6 separate regions of the Homo sapiens genome follow, and regions 2, 3, 4, 5 and 6 are each linked to region 1. Evidence: promoter capture Hi-C in 16 types of primary human blood cells and fetal thymus (Javierre and others, 2016). All regions are on one chromosome and are shown on one strand. Each heading gives the region's core, a stretch centred on a gene start or on the middle of the fragment in contact. The rest is flanking DNA. Distances are from core to core; before and after follow the strand shown.

Region 1 (3,028 bases), core at 376-2,875:
GTTTATAAGGTAGACAGCCCTCATCATTACTGCAAACGGGGATTCCCTGCCTGTCCAGACTCTTCCAAAGTCCGGTACAAACCACGTAATAGGTGCTCAATAAACGCTGCCTGTACGGAATTTTACTATCAAAGCTGCCAAGGAAAGTTTCCAGAAATCAGCTCTTCCAAAATATGTCCTCAGAGTTTTCTTTGTCCAACAAAAAAATATTTTTGAAGATCCAAGAGCAGGAAATCTGCGAGGCAACGAGGAGCCAAATATAAGCCAAGCGGCTCCAGCTGGGCCCCACATTCCGCTAGGACTCCCCAGTACCTATTCCCCATCTCTCCGCCTACATCCTGAGTGCGCCCTCCCTCTCATCTCGGCTGTTTCCTTCCCACAACCCTACCTCCATACTTTCGGCCACACACACCCCAAGTGCGTGCTCCTGGAACCTCACAGCCCACCTCTCCCTCTCCAGCAAGGACCTACCTCTCTTCCCCTCGACCTGCAGCAGTTCTTCTTCACTGCAGCTGGCTTTTTAAGAAATCAAAAAATCTCATTTATCTGCAAGGGATACCCCCTAGTAAAGGGTGACGGAAAGGAGAAGGCCCCTATCAACCCTCCAGTAACTGGAGGTGCTGGTCCTCCCGGCAACCACCCCCAATTCTCCTCCTTTTCAAGCCCCTGGACAGGATTTGAGCAGAAGTCCCGCTCCCAAGAGCCCACGCCTCCAAACAAGCTAGAAGCGGATTATACCGGTACCCAACCCGGAGACGGCCCGCGGACGGCTGGGTGCACCTGCGGGCCCCCAGCTCCCTCCCACAGGCGCGGGGGGCGGGGCGCGGGCCTTCACCTCCCCGCCCCCGCCCGCCGGGCTCCCAGCGCAGCCCACCCTGCACAGGAAGGAAGCGGAGGGGAGGCGATTCTGGAGAAGTTAAAGGGCTCACCTTTGGACGCCGGGCCAGCAAGGCCAGACACCAAACACCCACCTCCGGGAGGAACCAGCAGAGCCGAAACCGGCTCTCCCCGCCTTTCCGATAGGGCGGAGGGAGGTGAGAGAAGGGAGCGCGCGCGAGGGGTTCAGGAGCCAGGAAGCCGCACTCCCCTCCCGCAGGGCCGGCCGCCCGGGGCCGAAGCGGCCGACGCTCAGACTGCAGAAAGCGGAACAATCTCCCAGGCCCTGGCGGCAGCAAACGGGAGCCCACTCCGCTCGCCGCCACCTCCTCCCGACCCCCGGACGTCCCCGAATGAGTTCCCGGCCGCAACCGCAGCTCGGGCCGCGGCGCCTGCGCCAGGGTTGCGCGCTCCGGCTCGGCGCGGCTCCACCTGCGCGTCGCCTTCCCTCGCAGCCCCCGGCCCCTGCCGGGAGAGGTGCGCACCAACCTTGGGGTGCAGCTCGGCCGCCAAGCCACGGCTTATGCTGAGGCCGGAGGTGGCGGCATCACCCGCGGCGGGCGGCGGCTGCACCGGGACGCGCCGGGGCGGCGAAGGCGCGCTGCACCCTGGACCCTGCTCCCGCGGCCCCGCCCGCGGCTGCCACCTCGAAGCGCGGCGGAGGAGCCGGGGCACCACGGGCGGCGGCAGCGGCAGCGGCAGCAGCGGCGACGGGAGCAGCAGCACATGACTCTGTAACGAGGGGAATTAGACAAAGCGTAACATGGACTCCGGGCCCGTGCAGGCGCTGCAGCTCTGGGACCAACCGCAGCCGGCGAGTGCCGCGACTGGCCCGGCCGCAGCCAATGGGGCGGGCCCGGGCCTCCATGTGATTGCGAGCGCTTTCTCCGGTGGCCCTGCAGCGCCTGACCGGACGGGGTCTGTGTGGCGAGGGAGGGGACCCGGGGTTGGAGACTGGCGGCGAGCGACTGCTAGATGCGGAGCAGGTGCTTGGGAGGGGAAGAACGGCAGCCTACATAACCATCGCCGTAATGCTCTCGCAAGCGTCCACCTGGGCAGGGCTCGGTGCCGGGCAGGCGCAGCTGCCAGTTAGCTGCGAGGCATGGTCAGGAGCCTTCACCCGTCCTGGGCGAAGGAGGCTGTCCCGTCGACTAAAACTCTGATATTAAGACTTGGCGCTGGGGGTGGGGAGTTGAATTACGTTAAAAAGTCACTTAAGTGCCTTCCAACTCTAAGGAGAAGTACTTATCTGAGCTTTGGGGCACACACAACTACTACTTGGCATGGAGAGTTTCTCAGCTTCATGTGTTCCGTCTGTTATTGAAGCTGTATTGGAAAGTCGGTTCTTGTTTTTATCTGAGCCCGCCGTTTTCATCCCATTCTTTTCGTCAAAAATATGTTACATCTGAAAGAGGCAGATGAAAAGATTATTCTATGCTAAGAGGGTTTTGCAGCCCGATAATGTCACCGTTTTTTGTTGTTGTTGTTGTAGGATCGGGGTTCATTTGCAGTCTTTTTTGTGGGTGAGCAGAGGCAGGGGCCAATAAATAAATTAAGGCGGGATATTTGGAGTTATTTGGTTGTAATAAAATATGTGGTTCAACCCAGTGCTTTCATATCTTCTTTTATCTGAATCCATGTGTTTCTGTAAACCATCGGAAGTCTAATCTGTCTTCTACCAATATCTCTCCATGTCAGCAAATGTTCAATCAACGTTTACCCAGCATCTAAATATTCTTAATAAGCATGCTGCACAAATGTTACAGGTACTCAGGAAGGTGTCGGTTCAGAGACAGTGAGACATTAAAGAGAATGATTGTCCAGGGTTTCAGAAAAGGATTCAGAGAGGAGCTGATAGAATTGACCCTTGGATGGTGAGCACTTGGCCCTCAGGCATTGGACGTGAAGAAGAGCAGCCCAAACAGGAACATGAACAGAGAGGTCCAGAATACACTCAAGGGACTGCCCGAGACCCGTTACAAGATGCCACCAGATTCTGAGCCCTCGGCCCTTTTGCTCTCACTTTCCTTCCCCGACCCTCCTTGCCAGCAGCCACTCCTGTTCCACACACTGCCAAGAAGGAGGTGTATGGGCAGGGAGTGTGTGTAAGTGATCTAATCAGTGTCAGATTTGCTGATCTAAGAGATGAGAG
Region 2 (3,028 bases), core at 145-2,644, 240 kb after region 1:
TTAGATTTTCATAGGTCAGTTTACTTTTCACACTGGGGCACATTCTGGCAAAGGTGTATCTACAGGGCCCCACTCACATTCATTAAACCATACTCACTCCCTGAACTTCCTTTCAATTACAGGTTAGTTCCCACAGCAATTTAAACACAACATATTTTAAAATTCTGTGTCTACAACACTTAGATGAACACAGCTTTTCTAAGTAGTCGACATATGTTAATTTCTCTCACTCATTCCTCAAACACAGTCGTTCTTATTTGCATTTTTCAGACAGCTTGTCACACCAAGTGATTTCTGTACCCATATTTAAAACCAAACATCTATCCAAATAAGTCTCAGTGCTCCTAAAATTTAGCCTACCAATCTCATTAGAAAAAGTGATAAGTTAATATACTTTTTCAGATACAGCTCAGAAATATGGCTGAAATTACTTGAAATTATGTTATTATTAAACATACTTAGGCTTTATATTAGATTTGTTTAATTTAGAGTTTAATAAAAGCCATTTGTAACATTTATAGTTCAATAATTTGTGATAGTTAAATTACATATATATTGATAATTTGAACTGTGAGAAAATTGTAAAATGCTAGAATTTGTTTTTAATTGAAAGTAAAAATTATATCTTTTAGTGCCTATGAAACCTCAAAAAAAAAGTTTCTAGGGAGATTTTGTATTATACAATCCTTTTTAAAAAGTACTTCAAATCTTCCTAAGAGTACTGACCCCAAATTGTATTTAAGATACTTTTAGCAATAATCTTTTAAGCTTGTCATTTCAAATATCAAAAATTTGGGCATGTCCAAAACTTACTTTGGGTTTACCAAGTCATGTGCAAAGCCTATTTTACAATTAGTCACCATCCAGCATCAAATTGTTTTGCAGGTTAGAAAGCACAGTTAGTATGTATAAGAACCTAGCTGTACACTAATTCATAACTACAGGGCACAACTGGAGTAAGATTTCTCATTCACAATTCACAAGCCTTTATAAAAGTCTTACAACATATATCACATGACTGCATTTATGTGCACTGAGCATGATAAAGACATCTGATGTGTGAAACATTTTACATATTCTTCCATAGCGGCTGCATTTGTAACATGCCAGAAAAGAATTTATTGCATAATTCAAAAATGTTACTCAGCCATGATTCTTCTTATACAGTTCTCCTTAAATATTAGAAATATACTTTCTACTTTATTAATAATTTAACATCTGTTTTTCTACCTTCAAAGCATGTCTCATTTACATTAATTTGTTTTATACTTAAAACAAGCCATTGAAATAAATAGTATTACTCTTTATGTTTATATGCATAGAAATTAAGGCAGTCCCAAAGAATTAACCTTGCCCAAGGTGACAAAACCTCTAAGAAATAAAGTTGCAACTGGAACTTAGGTCCTCATACTCAAATCCCAACCTCATGCACACCAGACCACATGGCCTCAGTCAATCCAATTAACTACGCCACAGTCTTAGGTCTCTCAAAAGCTGAAGAAAAAGCTAATTAGCGCTCTTTCCCAACTCATCCAATATCTGCATTATAACTGGGTTATAACTGCATTATAACTGGGTTTGAATAAGGATGCAAATGTAGTTTTCTGTAATGTCTTCCGTTACATATAATCTACTTTCTCAGCTAAACATTTTCCTACTAAATATTTTCTACTGAACTAAAACTTAATATTTAAATATATAGCATCTGGATTTAAGTATATATAAAACATCTCAGCATTCCTATGTATAAAATGATGATAATTTTCCTATTTGAAGTGCTTAACTAGAGAGTTTAAGCATAGCTATCTTTTGTCATTATGCCATTTAATACTGTCTGTCCAGGAAATTGTTTCCAGACCATATTTTAGTAAACAATGATGATTCAATCCAAATAAAATATCTATTTCTAATATACAAACACACTAAATCAATCCAAAGAAATGTTAAGAGTAATGGATTTTACGGTTCTAATCCCATTATTTCAGCTTTTAAACCTCATTAAGAAGTCATAAAAGCTTTTTCAAAACACATGAATTCACTTGACAATCTTACTCCAAAGTCTCTAAGACTGTAACATCAACATTCAAGTTAGGCATCTTTACTTCCCAGTAGTCCTTATTTTACTTTGAAAGCATTTCTAAAATAACAAGTGAAAAAATAAACAAATGATGATCAGATGGTATTTAGTGTCATTATATACTGAGAAGAGGACGCTACTTCAAAGATCTGTCTCTGACCCCAGGCAGGGATTATAGCCGAACAATTCCAAATAGCGGTTCTCTACACTACTCTCATTGAAAATTGATTTAAAAATCACCTTATATCCCTTCAAAATGTTTAGTGCTACTTCCCATTAAGATGTTTCTTGGGACTAACATATATCTAACTGAAATTTAAATTCGCCTTTTGTTGAGTTCTCTCTCTAGGAAACAATGCATCAGTATCTCTGATTAATATGCCCCTTTTCTTTATGCTAAGTAACTCATTTCACCATTCTTGAGAGATTTAATGACAAGCATTAAACATATTTCAAGTGCTTAAATGATCACCGGCAATAACATTTGATATACTAGTTTCCTTATGTCCCTTTGTAGTTCTTTCAAATCTTGTTAGTACAGTGATTTTCAAATAACAAACATGCTTCCCAAACTCAGTCGTAGTTTTGAGACCTAGAAAGAAAGATTTTTCTAATAGTGGTTCTCTAACATTAATGTACATAAAAATCACCAAGAGCTTATTAAAACATGAAGTGATTAGTCCATCCCTCAGAGTTGCCAATTTGTAAGGTAGGAAGTAGGTCTCAAGAATTGCATTGCTAACAAATTCCTAGTTCATGTTGATGCTGCTGGTCCAAGGACCACTTTTCAAGAATCACAAACCTAAGACAGTGATTCTCAATCTCAGCTTCACCTTAGAACCTCTTGGGGCACTTTTAAAAGAAACGTAAACCCAGGCCTTACTCCCAAAGAGCAAGTCAATTGGTCTAGGAGAGGCCAGATTTTTTTTTTCCCCCAAATCTCCCCAGGAG
Region 3 (3,028 bases), core at 175-2,674, 220 kb before region 1:
CTTCAGTGAGCTTGATTTATTTTCATGGTACCACTATTCTTCAGTCACTCTAGTTAAAAAATCGTATTCCATCTTTGATATTTTTCCATCTCACTGACCTCCTGCTTCAAATGAATGGCAGGTACTGCCTTCTTCTATGCACATCTTTTAAACCTGTTGCCTCCTCTCCAGCTACCCATGTTTAGGCCTTCCTTGGGGCGTCACCTTTTCTGTCTGGAATGTTACACTAGCCTTCTAACTGCACTCTCCACCTCATACCAGCTTGTCTTCATTCCAATACATCTTAAAATTGCTGGCAGGTTCATCCTCCTGAAGTACAGCTCTGCTCATTTCACCCCATTGTCTCCCTCATGCCTCAGACAAAAATCCAAACCCTCTAGGCTAGCATCCAAGGCTCTCCATGACCTGCCACCCACTGATTCTTCTACTGCATTCAAGTGACCTGCATATAAGGCACATATTGTTCCCTAGAGACAGTGCATGATTTTCTTCTGTGCCTTGCTCCTGCTGATACTTCTTCCGTGAATGCTGTTCTTCTACCACTCCCATCATCTTCAGTTCTTTAGCTCCAAATCATTTGCATCATTCAAGTCCTAGGTTAAATACCACTTCCATTGCAAAGCCTTGCCTAATTCCTTCCATTGGAATATATCTTTCCTTCTCTGAAGTCTAATCACATTCTATCTGTTCCTTTCTTTTGTTCAAATGAACAAATATGTGCTCAATTTCTGCTGTGTACAGGAATATGCCTGGTAAGGGCAAAATTGGGGCAAACCAAAACAGACATAATCCCTATCCTCGTGGATCTAACAGTCTAATATCTGCCACTTTCCAATTTGTATTCTCTTTCTGTGCAAGTCTTACTTTTCCTTCCAGACTGAAAATTTCATAAATGCAGTATGAAATTTTACATTTATGTGTATTTCATTCATTTTATGCCCCTCTCATACATAATATCTAGCAGAATACACTGCATGTGTTTTAATACATATTTGAATAAATTAATACATGTGTTAAATGTTACTAGATAGATGAGCTTCAGGGTCATTACTCACTTCCCAAGCAAAAGTAACTGATTAACTTTTTTTTTTTCTTTTTCGAGACAGTCTCACTCTGTTGCACAGGCTGGAGTGCAGTGGTGTGATCTCAGCTCACAGCAACCTGCGCCTCCTGGGTTCAAGCAATTCTCGCACCTCAGCCTGTCAAGTAGCTGGGATTACAGGCACGGCCATCACATTCGGCTGATTTTTGTATTTTCAGTAGAGATGAGGTTTCACCATGTTGGCCAGGCTGGTCTCAAACTCCTGACCTCAAGTGATCTGCCTGCTTTGGCCTCTCAAAGTGCTGGGATTACAGGCGTGAGCCACCGCGCTCGGCAACTGATTAACTTCTGGGTCTAATTTTATGGATTCCCTGGTTTTAAAAATTATTAGCCATTTTAAGTGTACTCAGAAAAGAGTTAAGTGCTCAGTCACTGGAATCAGAACCAGGCATGAATTCCGCCACTGCTCCTTACCAGCTGTGTGAGCTGGGGTGGGACTGGAAGTTACTTCACCTCTCTGAGCCTCAGTTTCCTTATCTGAGTTTGGGTGAGCACTAAGTAACATACTAAATGCAAGGCAACTAATGCAATCATGGTACATTCATGTTCAACAATTTGAAGCTATCATTATTTATTTCTGTTGTCTTCCTTTGAATCATAGCATGTTGATACTATTTCCCAGAGCGTGTTGCTATTCCAGTGGTATGCTTGCTTCTTCAGCTTCTCTGACAGATTCCGTTGGAAAACTGACACGACAGTAATTCCCAACCCCTTTCTTTCTTCCCATCTTTTACTATAGACAGATAGGAATGGCCATGTGACCCAGTTCTAATCAAAGAGACAGAGGCAAAGGTCTGTTAGAGAATTCCCAGGAAAATATTTGCTTTCCTGATAAAGGAGACAGATAGGTCTAGGGACAACCTTCCCTACTATCCCTTCTTTCTATCTTTAATGTAGATACATTACCTGGAGTTGCAACTGCATCTTGAGATTTTGTGGGGAAGGCCAAAAAAATTGAGACGCTGACTCAGACAACACTGAGCAGCTGATCCGATACAAATAGTCATCTAACTCCAGACTTCTTGTTACGTGAGAAAAGTAAACCCTGTTTCTTTAAGCCAACATACATAGACTTTTGTTGCTTGCAGCCAAATACAACCAAGATGATTCTCAAGCTCTCAAGGTAGTTTAGGGTATATGTAAGAGAACATTTTTAAAAGATAATGTAGCTCTGTTATTCAAAGACTCTTCAGTGCATAAAAGTCAAATATCTTATCAAAACATCATATAGGAAGAGTCTTACACATCTAGAAGGGATTCAAATTAAGAGTCATTGTGAAACTAATCCTGAGGGAAAAAGCTGTAACGACCCATTGAGAAAACCTTGGTTGTGTTCATTGAGTGCCTGCCATTCTAAGTGCTGAGGTACCAGTGCCGAATTAAACGACAAAATTATTGTTCTCATGGGGCTTACATTCCAGTGAAGGAGACATGTGATAAGCAAATAAATAAAATAATTTTAGATAGTGGTGAGTGGTAACAGAGTGATGGGATAGAGAATGACTATATGAGAAGTCCTCTCTGAGGAAGCTGCAATTTAACATAGCTGAATGATGAAAGGGAACCAGTTATGCAAAGGTTTGGGAAAAGAGCATTCTGGGCAAAGAAAACAATAACCACAATGGCTAAAAGACAGAAACAAGTGTTGTATATCAGAGGAGTAAAAAGGCCAGTGTACCTGTGGCATAATGGGTAAGGGGAAGAGTGGCAAGAGATTAGAAAGACAGGGGCAGGATCACATATGATATTGCTGGCATAGTACCAAATTTAGATTCACAGGAAGCTTTTAGAGAGGGCACGCAGAAAGACCTCAGTGTTTGGCAGTGGCCACATGTAGTGTGAACAAATATTCATGTGGACACTCCTTGGGGTATATGGAAAGCTGGTATAAGGAGTGGTAACTTCAGGGAAATTAAAGAAAGTAAG
Region 4 (3,028 bases), core at 140-2,639, 220 kb after region 1:
ATCTATAGAATAAATGTCAGTTTTCTTCCTTTAACATCATTGTACCCATGCCCTCAAAGACTGTATCCAAAGTACTACTTCCTTATGCCATTTTCTTACCCACAAGGATTTAACAACTTCTCACTGTTTCAACAATTTGTCCACAAAAGTCTCCATTAGTGGTTTCTGGCATGTGCCTTTGCCCTTAGGCATCCTGGCTGACCCACTGGCCAGCACACACCTTGCAAATGCCCAGCTTTCAGCTATTTATTCATTATGCACCTACAGTGTAGAATACTGTAACAAATTATAGGTGCAGATACTATATTAGTGGAAGGGGACACAAATATGAACGAGATTTGGTTTCTGCCTTCAGATGACTGAGCGGGAAATCCATAACCTCACTACATTGGTATAAGGGTTCAGAATAACTAACTCCAATTTGGGGAAAGAGGGTGATTAGAGGAGTTATAGAGTGATATCATCTTAGTCTTGAAGAATGAATTGAGGTTTATTCATATGTGTATGTATGGAAAAAAGGAACTTCTGGTTGAGGGAACAGCCTGGACAAAGACATAGAGGTTAGAAAGGCTTGGCAGAGAGGACTGCCCTGTAGTTCCATATAGTGGGCTGGCAGGAATGCATGTGGGAAGTCCAGCACTGCCTGGAGGACTTGGATTCTGGCCAAAAGAAAACCACTGGGGTCAGGTCACATTGCTGCTTTGTTAAATCCCACAGGGCACAAAAGGGCAAGAACATTCACATTTCTGGTGAGTCACATGTAAACAGCTGTATTTTTGCCAAGGTCTCTTCCAAAAGGTACTGAGGCTGGGGGCATCTTTCACACAAGGTGACAGAGACGTTTCTGCGGCTGACACCATTCCAGTCTTATGACCTTAGATTTCATTTTATCAAGCTTCTACTATCTATAGTTACAAGAAACAAGACCTCCTTTAAGTCATGCTGCCTGGCTGTGGTGAGAACGGACAAGGGTGTGGCTGTGGCAGATGGTATCAAAGAAGACCCTTACTGCCCCATTCCCAGTAGGTCCTTGAATGGGTACTGGGTAAGTTCCTGTGAACAATGGGGAACCCAACTCTCCATCCTATGTTCCCTGACTACCTGCTACTTCTAAGAGATGTGGGTACAGCCCTGGGAATGGCCTTTCTTCAGCCATTTCTTGGCCGTCCCTCCTCTTCATGGTAGGAGAGAGAAAAGAGGGAAGAAAGGACCCATGTGCTCCTGGTGGGCCAGATTCTTCTTTTCTGGTCCAATGTAATTTTCTCATGTGAAAGGGAACATTCCCTTCAAATATCAGCAAGATGGTCAGATGTTTATGCAGAATCTCAAAGCTCAGCATCAAGATTTCTGGTGAACATGGATGCTGTTTACACTAGCTTTACAGTCTAGTCAGGGAAACAGACACTAAATAAGTCATAGTTATCAAGAGGATGGATACCTCAAAGTATAGTACCAGTTGCCCTGGGAACAAACAACAGGGGGATCTAAGGATGGACTGGTCAGAAAAATGCCACCTTGAAGAAGTGACCATTTATACTGAGAACTGGATGAACAGGAGTTAGCTAGGCATAGGAATTAAGGAAGAGCCTTTTTGGCAGAAATGCATGTGCACAGACCAAGGCAGGAAAGGACATACTTTGAAATATTTTCTATCATCTTTGGAGGAAAACTCATTAAAGCTAACGTAGAAAGCAACCACTAGGGTCAGACAAGATGCTAACATTTTACACATATTATCTCGTGGAATCCTCTTAAGATCTTATGAGGTTTGTTTCTATGAGGAGTGGGTCTTATTTGTCCCTGCTGTCCCCCACTGTATTCACAATACCTTAGGCAGCATCTGGGTAAGTAGCAGACACTCAATATTTATAAAATAAAGCTTACATTTTACAGACGAGGAAGCTGAGGCTCAGAGGTACAAGATGACTCAAGAGTTACTGGTGAAAATAGGGCTCTGATCCAGGTTGGAGATGAGTACCTTCTGGGCTGTCAGTCCAGGAAAATGCTCTTGTCTTCTTCCAGATAAAGCAGAGACTAGGCCGGGCCTTGGACAGTCTTAGACTGGGCATGAGGGCACAGAGCAAGTGAACAGCACATAGCTATGTCTGCCCACTGCATTATCAGATGAACCTGGTGAGCGCATAGTCTGCCCTTGGAGCTGGCACCCAGGTGGGGCTGTACCCTAAGACCAGGCAGAAGTTAACATCTCTCAGTGCACTGAAACCTAGAGTCATGTTTCTCCAACGGGGAGCCTGTTAGCTGACCTGACACTCAGGTCTCAGCTGAACAGAAACTGGAGAACTTAAAACTGTCAGGCATCTATTTGCCCTAGGTCAGACTCTGGGAGGAAAGCCAGTGATAAAGGGTCAGCCTCAGCTTTCAAATTTTGGTGTTAAAGCCCAAGACAGCCAAGTACCTCACAGGTCACCTTTATACCTGTGCAACCTCAGGACATTTCTCTTAACTGGGAATTGTAACCTGAGCATTGTGAAGGCCCTGCTGGGAATGTTTCTAACTGTACTGCCCTAAATAGCTTCTCTTCACTGTCTACTTGGCTCTCCTGACGGGGAGGCACTGCAGAACAGCCCTTTAAGATAATTCCATCCTCCTTCACTTGCTATTATGCTTGAGGTTCTTTAGTGAATAAAAGTCTTATTCATGTGTCATAAAAGTGAATCATTTCCAAAGCTGAAAAAAGAAATGTATGACATACTCAAGTTCTTAAGAAAATTACTCAGTATTAAACATGATCAACACTTCCCACTCACTCAGCATTTTATGTAGATCAGAATATTGGAGTTGGAAGGCCAGCTAGCGAGCATCCAAGCCCACCCACTCACAAGGCTCAGTTAGGCTGCTACCCTGTGCATGCAGATCACACTGCAGATCACACTGGAAATGGCAGGATCACGAGGGCTAGTGCTGAAGCCCAGAAGTCAAAAGAACCCTATTTTCTCTCCCTCTGTCAGACATCCTCCAGCATCCTCACCAACTTCCCCAAGCCACAGCTTACCCTGAGAAGCATGTT
Region 5 (3,028 bases), core at 181-2,680, 150 kb before region 1:
ACACCTCTCTGTGACTAAAAGATACAATAGTTGGAAGAAAGGAGTAATTTGAAGGAATTTTCTATCTCAAGCAAAGACTTTATCCAGGAGGCTGTATTTTCCACTCACCTAGATATTATAAAAGGAAGTATAATCTGACTCACCACCTAGAACTAGTTTTCATACCTTTGCCTTTTTTTCCTCTCTTCATTTTTCCCTTTTCCATTTTTCCTTTAGCTATACTTTTTTTCTTTTTGGAGACAGGGTCTCACTCTTTCATCCCGGCTGGAGTGCAGTGGCGTGATCTCAGCTCACTTCAGCCTCAACCTCCTGGACTCAATAGATCCTCCCACCGCAGCCTGCCCCGGGGTAGCTGGGACTACAGGTGTGCACTACCATGCCTAGCTAATCTTTGTATTCTTTGTAGAGATGATGTTTCGCTATGTTGCCCAGGCTGGTCTCAAACTCCTGGTGATCAGCCTGCCTCAGCCTTTCAAAGTGCTGGGATTACAAATGTGAGCCACCATGCTTGGCTATCTATACTTTTTAAAAGATAATCTGCATCATTTTTTATTGTGTTCAAACTTTTGGGAGGGGCCATATTCCCAAATACTTTTACCTGTTTTAACAAGAAGCATTAAATATGAGGGCCCCAGGTATCTAAATCAAAGCACTTCAAAAGGCAGCTGGCTCTGCAATCCTGAATATAATAGTCTAAACAAATATGATTCAGCTTGAATTTGTTGTAATGCCAAGAGCTTTCCAACCAGGAATATCCTGACATGAAACAGAATTAAGAAAGTATCTGGATTCTTTCAAAGCTTAGGTATAGTGGTTCAAGCCTCTGGTTTTTTTTGTTGTTGTTGTTACCAGAGAGGTAGGACAATGAATGAATCAATTGGGGGCATATTTTGCAAATAAAAACAAAAGGGAAAAACAAACAAAAACACCTAAGATTGACAGACTTAGTAGCCTCTCACAACATTTAAGTCAGGAGATAAATATTCTGGCTTTCTGGCTTCTATAGTAGAGGGCAATAAGGAAAAAGGTTTTGGATAAGCCAACCCCCAGCGTCTGCCACAAACAGAATAGTAAGGGAGAGGAAGCAATCTAAAGTCACCCTCTGAGGTGGGAAGCTCTCAGGCTTATGCCCTAAAAGGTAAAGTCCCATTCTAGACAAGACAGTACTGAAATAGCTCTCTGGTTAGTGTTCAGTATTCTAGCTGAGTAACATGTTTATGGGCAGGCAGAGCAAAGATGCCTTCAGAGAAAATGTACAGGGAGGAAAGCACTGTCTAAACAGGAGATGACCTCACTGAAGAAGGCTTCCAACACCTCTGTCAGGCTCACAGCTACCTGATTCTTCAGGTCACAGTATGCACAGTGATTCTTCCAGGAGGCCTACCTGGACTTCTTATGCTAAATTATATGCCTTTGCCAAATGCTCACACATAATCTTGAAGTTAAGCCTTGTAACATCTCTCTTTCATTTGTACGCCTTGTTTGATGTCTTCTTTTCCTTTTAGACATGGAAGTTCTATGAGGGAAGAGTCCATATCTGTCATGTTCCCTGATATTTCTCAAACACTTAGCACAATGTTTGGCATATAATAGGTGCTCACTAAATTTGTTTTGGGTGGAGCTAAGCTGATTTGGCTCTCCTACTAAAATGTTATGCTCCTTCATAAGTCATCACATTCACAGATACTTATTATAATTACATAATTACTTATTTAAAATCTGTTTTTCTTACTAATCCTTTAGCTCTATGAGGGCAGGGCAAAGTCAGTTTGATGTGACTCCAGCATCTCTCATAGTGCCTGCTATATAAATATCGTATAGATGTTCAATAAATACTTGTTGAATAAATGATTGCTTTAGACAAGATATATAACCTCCCTGACACTCGGATTCCCAATCTGCAATCAATCATAACCACCACCATAAGTACCATGATGATTAAATGCCATGCATGTTCCCCATGGTGAACCCACAGACTGAAGTTCTGGGGTTTGCCATGGAATGAAAAAGCAGAACAGAGAATTCAGAGAACTAATCTGGAATCTGGTCCCAGAAGCTTTAATCTACAAAAGGTATGTGACAAAAATAAGGGACCATTTTCATTTTCTAGGGCTGTCATAACCAAGTACCACAGACTGGGTAGCTTAAACAACAGAAATCTATTTTCTCACCATTCTGGAGGCAAGAAGCCCTGGATCAAGGTATTAGCAGCGTTCATTTCTTCTGGGGCCTCTCTTCTTGGCTTATAGATGGCCATCTTCTCTCTGTCTTTACATGGTCTTCCCTCTGTGTGTGTCTGCGTCCTAATCTCTTTTGATAAGGACACAAGACATTTTGGATTAGGGCCTACCCCAATGACCTCCTTTAGCCTTGTCTCTTTAAAGACTCTATCTTCAAATAATTCCTAAGGTACTGGGGTTTGGGGCTTCAACATATAAATTTGGGGGTGTCACAATGTAGCCCATAACAGGGGGCATTGGAAAATATACTCCTATTCTCTCTTCAATTCAAAAAATATCTCATACATAATCTTCTGGTGGAGGGTAATAAGTTTTAAAATACCTACAGCCTGCTAAGAGGGTGGTCTATTAGCAACTCACACCTCAATATGAATTGCTTCATTGAGTGGAATGCTTTCCTATAAGCCATAAGAAACCAGCGGCCCAGGTGAGAGAGGAGGTCAAGGAATGAGAAATGAATCATTTTGATTCACGAGTTACTACTGGGAAGGGTAGAGCTGGGTAGGCCTGGGAAGAATGATAAATAAAATATTTTAGACATCTACTGTGTGTTGTGCAAAGAATTAGTGACATTAGTCCATTGTATTCTTTACATTAACTCAGTGAGACAGATGCGTTAACATCATCCTCGTTTTACAGTAAGAGAAGCTTAGACACAGAATAATTAAGTCAGAGCAGGGATTGGAATCTGTCTCAAAAAAAAATAATAAAAATAAAATAAAGCCTACCTACTCATATAATTTCAGGAAAAAACCCAGCACTATCTAGAGTGACCAACAATCCTGGTT
Region 6 (3,028 bases), core at 149-2,648, 130 kb before region 1:
ATTATCATCTTGCTTTAAAGTTAAACTATAGGCTGGGAGTGGTGGCTCATGCCTGTAATCTCAAGCACTTTGGGAGGCCGAGATGGGAGTATGGCTTGAGACCAGCAGTTTGAGACCAGCCTGGTCAACATAGCAAGACCTCATCCCTATTTAGTTAAAAAAAAAAAAAAAAAGGTAAACTATGACTATATGACTAAATTCCTCCCATGGTTAGCTTGGTCTATGCCCAGCAATGAGGAAAGACAGCCAGGCTGTGAGGCTAGAAGCAAGATGGAGTCAGCCATGCTAGACTGGTCTCGCTATCATAATCTCTGCAAAGGTGGTTTCAGATTCAGGGCCTTGCTCTACAAAATGTCCTTAAAAATATGATGCCTTCAATTTCAGAGGAAATAGTGAGATTTCTAAACAACATGTGACTTTTTGCCTAGGAGCTAAAAGCTTTCAACTCCTCTTCTTCCATCACGCTATCTGCAAGATGAAAGGAACCAATCTACGATTTCTAGCAGATTCTTGGAATTTGTAATTCAACTAATGCCTACCAAATATCTGCCATGTGCAGTACTGGGTGGTGAAAATGCAATTTTGTATCATTTAGGCATAATTCTCATGGTATCTACAACCTTGCTTTGAGCAATAACATACTAGGACAAAGGTTAACACAAATAATATTATTTCTTTTGCCATGTCAACCTAACAGCAAAAGAAGAAAACATTTCTCCAAAATGACTTATCCGAAAGACCCTAAGCCTTACTGGAGATTCTCAAGGAATAAGTCACTGTGGTTCAGAAGTTAATGGAAAAGCATTCCAAATTCCTTCTGTTCTTTCCTTCAATAGTGACTTCACTTAACCTTGATAGTGACAAAGAGACTTCGTCAAGGAAAAACAACTGTGAAAGGAAAAAGGAATTTGAAGAGTAATTCAATCTTAACCATCCTTTCAACTGGAAATTTGAGCTTATAAACAGTGCCAGAAAAATGTGTTAGAGACATAGCTGGAAAAAAAATGTAACTTTTTCTTAAACTCCTGCAAATGACAGAATTAGTCATAGGAATCAAAAAGGGAACAATCTCTGAGGGAGAAACACTGCTATTTCACTAGTGGGTCTTCAGAAATACCCTAACTTTCCACTCATCCCTGTTCTAAGAAATCATCTACCTCCACTGGAAAATTCCAGGCATAGGCAAAATAGTCTATTTAACTTGCATTATAATGTAAAACATCATTTGCCAGAGTAGTTACATCGCTTATCCAGATATTCTTTTCTTACCTAACACATTATTACCAAAAATATTCTAAAGTCTTAGATGCATTTGCCCTTCTCTCTTCATTTTAACGTCAGATTCTAAATGAAATTTGCATCAGCATACATACAAATGAATGTTTTAGAAGTTAAGTTATTCTTCATAATTTTCTATTTGTCTGAAATACAAGTTGTTATTTTTGTTGTTGCTGTTTTACCTCTCAGGAAATGGTGTCACCTGGTATGTGTTGATCAAAACATAAATCTAGTTGACATTCTTGATTTCTCTTTCTCACCTTCACTTGAACCTCCCAGGTTCCAGCGATTCTCCTGCCTCAGCCTCCCAAGTAGCTGGGACTACAGGCGCCTGCCATCATGCCCGGCTAATTTTTTTTGTATTTTTAGTAGAGATGGGGGGGTCTCACCATGTTGGCCAGGCTGGTCTCGAACTCCCAACCTTGTGATCCGCCCGCCTCAGCCTCCCAAAGTGCTGGGATTACAGGCGTGAGCCACCCTGCCTGGCCATATTTGCATTTTAAAAGAACATTGTATAATATACAGATAAGTGGTAAAATGTATGCTAATAATTAAAAAAATTTTTTTTTATTTAGAATGCTATTTGGTAACCAATTAAAAACACTGTGACAAGAGAAAGAATGAGGGAGAAAGGATAAAACTTTTTATTTTAGAAAATGGCTTATTTGGCTTGGTGCGGTAACACACACCTATAATCCCAGAGCTTTGGGAGGCAGAGGCAGAAGGATCGCTTGAGGCCAGGAGTTTGAGACCAGTCTGAGCAACATAGCAAGGCCCTGTCTCTACAAAAAAAAAAAAAAAAAAAAAAAAAAAATTAGCCCCTCGACATGCTGTTGCCTGCCTATAGTTCTAGCTATTGGGGAAGCTGAGGTGGGAGGATCCCTTGAGGGTAGGAGTTTGAGGCAGCAATGAGCTATGATTGCACACTGCACTCCAGCCTGGGCAACACAGCAAGACCTTGTCTCTTAAAAAAAAATTTTTTTTTAAAGAAAGAAACTGACTTCTCTAACCTCTAACTTGCTTCTAGCTATAGTCTGCAAGCTGTCCCAAGGGGCTTTCTTTAAAGGGACCAAAGCTTCTAACCACCTCCAAAATTATCAAAGTACATTCGGAATGTACTGTGTTGAGTATTTTCTCCAGTCTGGTATCACTTTTCTTTAATATTAAGATTGACTTGTTAACCAAACCTTCTCAAGGTGGAATAGCAGCACAAAGTTTGAGAGGAGATTGTTCTCTGCTTGCTCCAGGCTGAAACCAAGGATTATCCAGACCAGAACAACTTGGTAACCACAGGTTAGATATGCAAATTTAAAGTTTAACTTTATGCAAACAGTGCAACACAATCCAGGGACAAGGTCCATAAAGAAAGGTCCTGACACCTTTGCCTTTTTGTGTCTTGATGACTCTGGATCATTGAGACCTTTAGGTTTTGGCCTCCATGAAGAGATATCAGAAAAATAAAAAATGCTTTCTTTTCCTCTTGGCCCCATGGCACAAAGTTAGCCAGCCAACAAAAACGATTAACAGAGCTTCCTAAGCACAAAGCCCTGAGGAGGGAAATAGAATGGAGTGAGAAGGCATTTCACCTGGGGCTGCATGATGGCTGGTAGAAATCCTGGGATGTGAAGTCACAAGCTCACTTCATATCAGCTGTGTGACCTTAAGCAAATTCCCCTGTCTAGGCTTCAGTTTTTTCATTTATAAAGTGGGATCAATGATATTTGCCCTGCCTGCCTAGTAAGATTGTTGT

Evidence for each region. The method cuts DNA at HindIII sites, captures the fragments that hold promoters and counts their contacts. A CHiCAGO score of 5 or more calls a contact.
Region 2: a contact is called between a fragment that was not itself captured here and the fragment with the promoter of LRRC8D in region 1, in 2 of 17 cell types (total B cells and total CD8 T cells). The highest score is 5.2, in total B cells.
Region 3: a contact is called between a fragment that was not itself captured here and the fragment with the promoter of LRRC8D in region 1, in 1 of 17 cell types (fetal thymus). The highest score is 5.2, in fetal thymus.
Region 4: a fragment that was not itself captured here is called in contact with the fragment with the promoter of LRRC8D in region 1 in 1 of 17 cell types (total B cells); the score reaches 5.1 in total B cells.
Region 5: a contact is called between a fragment that was not itself captured here and the fragment with the promoter of LRRC8D in region 1, in 17 of 17 cell types (erythroblasts, megakaryocytes, activated CD4 T cells and 14 more). The highest score is 17.4, in erythroblasts.
Region 6: a fragment that was not itself captured here is called in contact with the fragment with the promoter of LRRC8D in region 1 in 14 of 17 cell types (megakaryocytes, erythroblasts, endothelial precursors and 11 more); the score reaches 17.1 in megakaryocytes.

What each region holds. Positions count from the first base shown.
Region 1 is chr1:89,819,629-89,822,656 of GRCh38, reverse strand. LRRC8D (leucine rich repeat containing 8 VRAC subunit D) reads right to left here and starts at 1,625. Exons shown (of 3, transcript NM_001134479.2): 1 at 1,366-1,625. LRRC8D-DT (LRRC8D divergent transcript) reads left to right here and starts at 863. Exons shown (of 1, transcript NR_185885.1): 1 at 863-2,483. RefSeq lists silencers at 656-875, 747-956, 1,047-1,146, 1,247-1,596, 2,037-2,096. The HindIII fragment of the contact is 10,555 bases long and covers 1-3,028 here.
Region 2 is chr1:89,576,370-89,579,397 of GRCh38, reverse strand. All of the region lies in intron 3 of LRRC8B (leucine rich repeat containing 8 VRAC subunit B), which reads right to left. Among named protein-coding and RNA genes, the nearest start is that of LRRC8B, 53 kb to the right of the region's middle. The HindIII fragment of the contact is 1,247 bases long and covers 771-2,017 here.
Region 3 is chr1:90,042,635-90,045,662 of GRCh38, reverse strand. No RefSeq gene overlaps it. Among named protein-coding and RNA genes, the nearest start is that of ZNF326, 49 kb to the right of the region's middle. The HindIII fragment of the contact is 2,926 bases long and covers 1-2,887 here.
Region 4 is chr1:89,603,573-89,606,600 of GRCh38, reverse strand. No RefSeq gene overlaps it. Among named protein-coding and RNA genes, the nearest start is that of LRRC8C-DT, 28 kb to the left of the region's middle. The HindIII fragment of the contact is 984 bases long and covers 898-1,881 here.
Region 5 is chr1:89,969,932-89,972,959 of GRCh38, reverse strand. It overlaps LOC105378847 (a long non-coding RNA gene), which reads right to left. Exons shown (of 3, transcript XR_001738142.2): 2 at 2,172-2,310. Among named protein-coding and RNA genes, the nearest start is that of ZNF326, 24 kb to the left of the region's middle. The HindIII fragment of the contact is 1,256 bases long and covers 803-2,058 here.
Region 6 is chr1:89,950,038-89,953,065 of GRCh38, reverse strand. No RefSeq gene overlaps it. Among named protein-coding and RNA genes, the nearest start is that of ZNF326, 44 kb to the left of the region's middle. The HindIII fragment of the contact is 1,915 bases long and covers 441-2,355 here.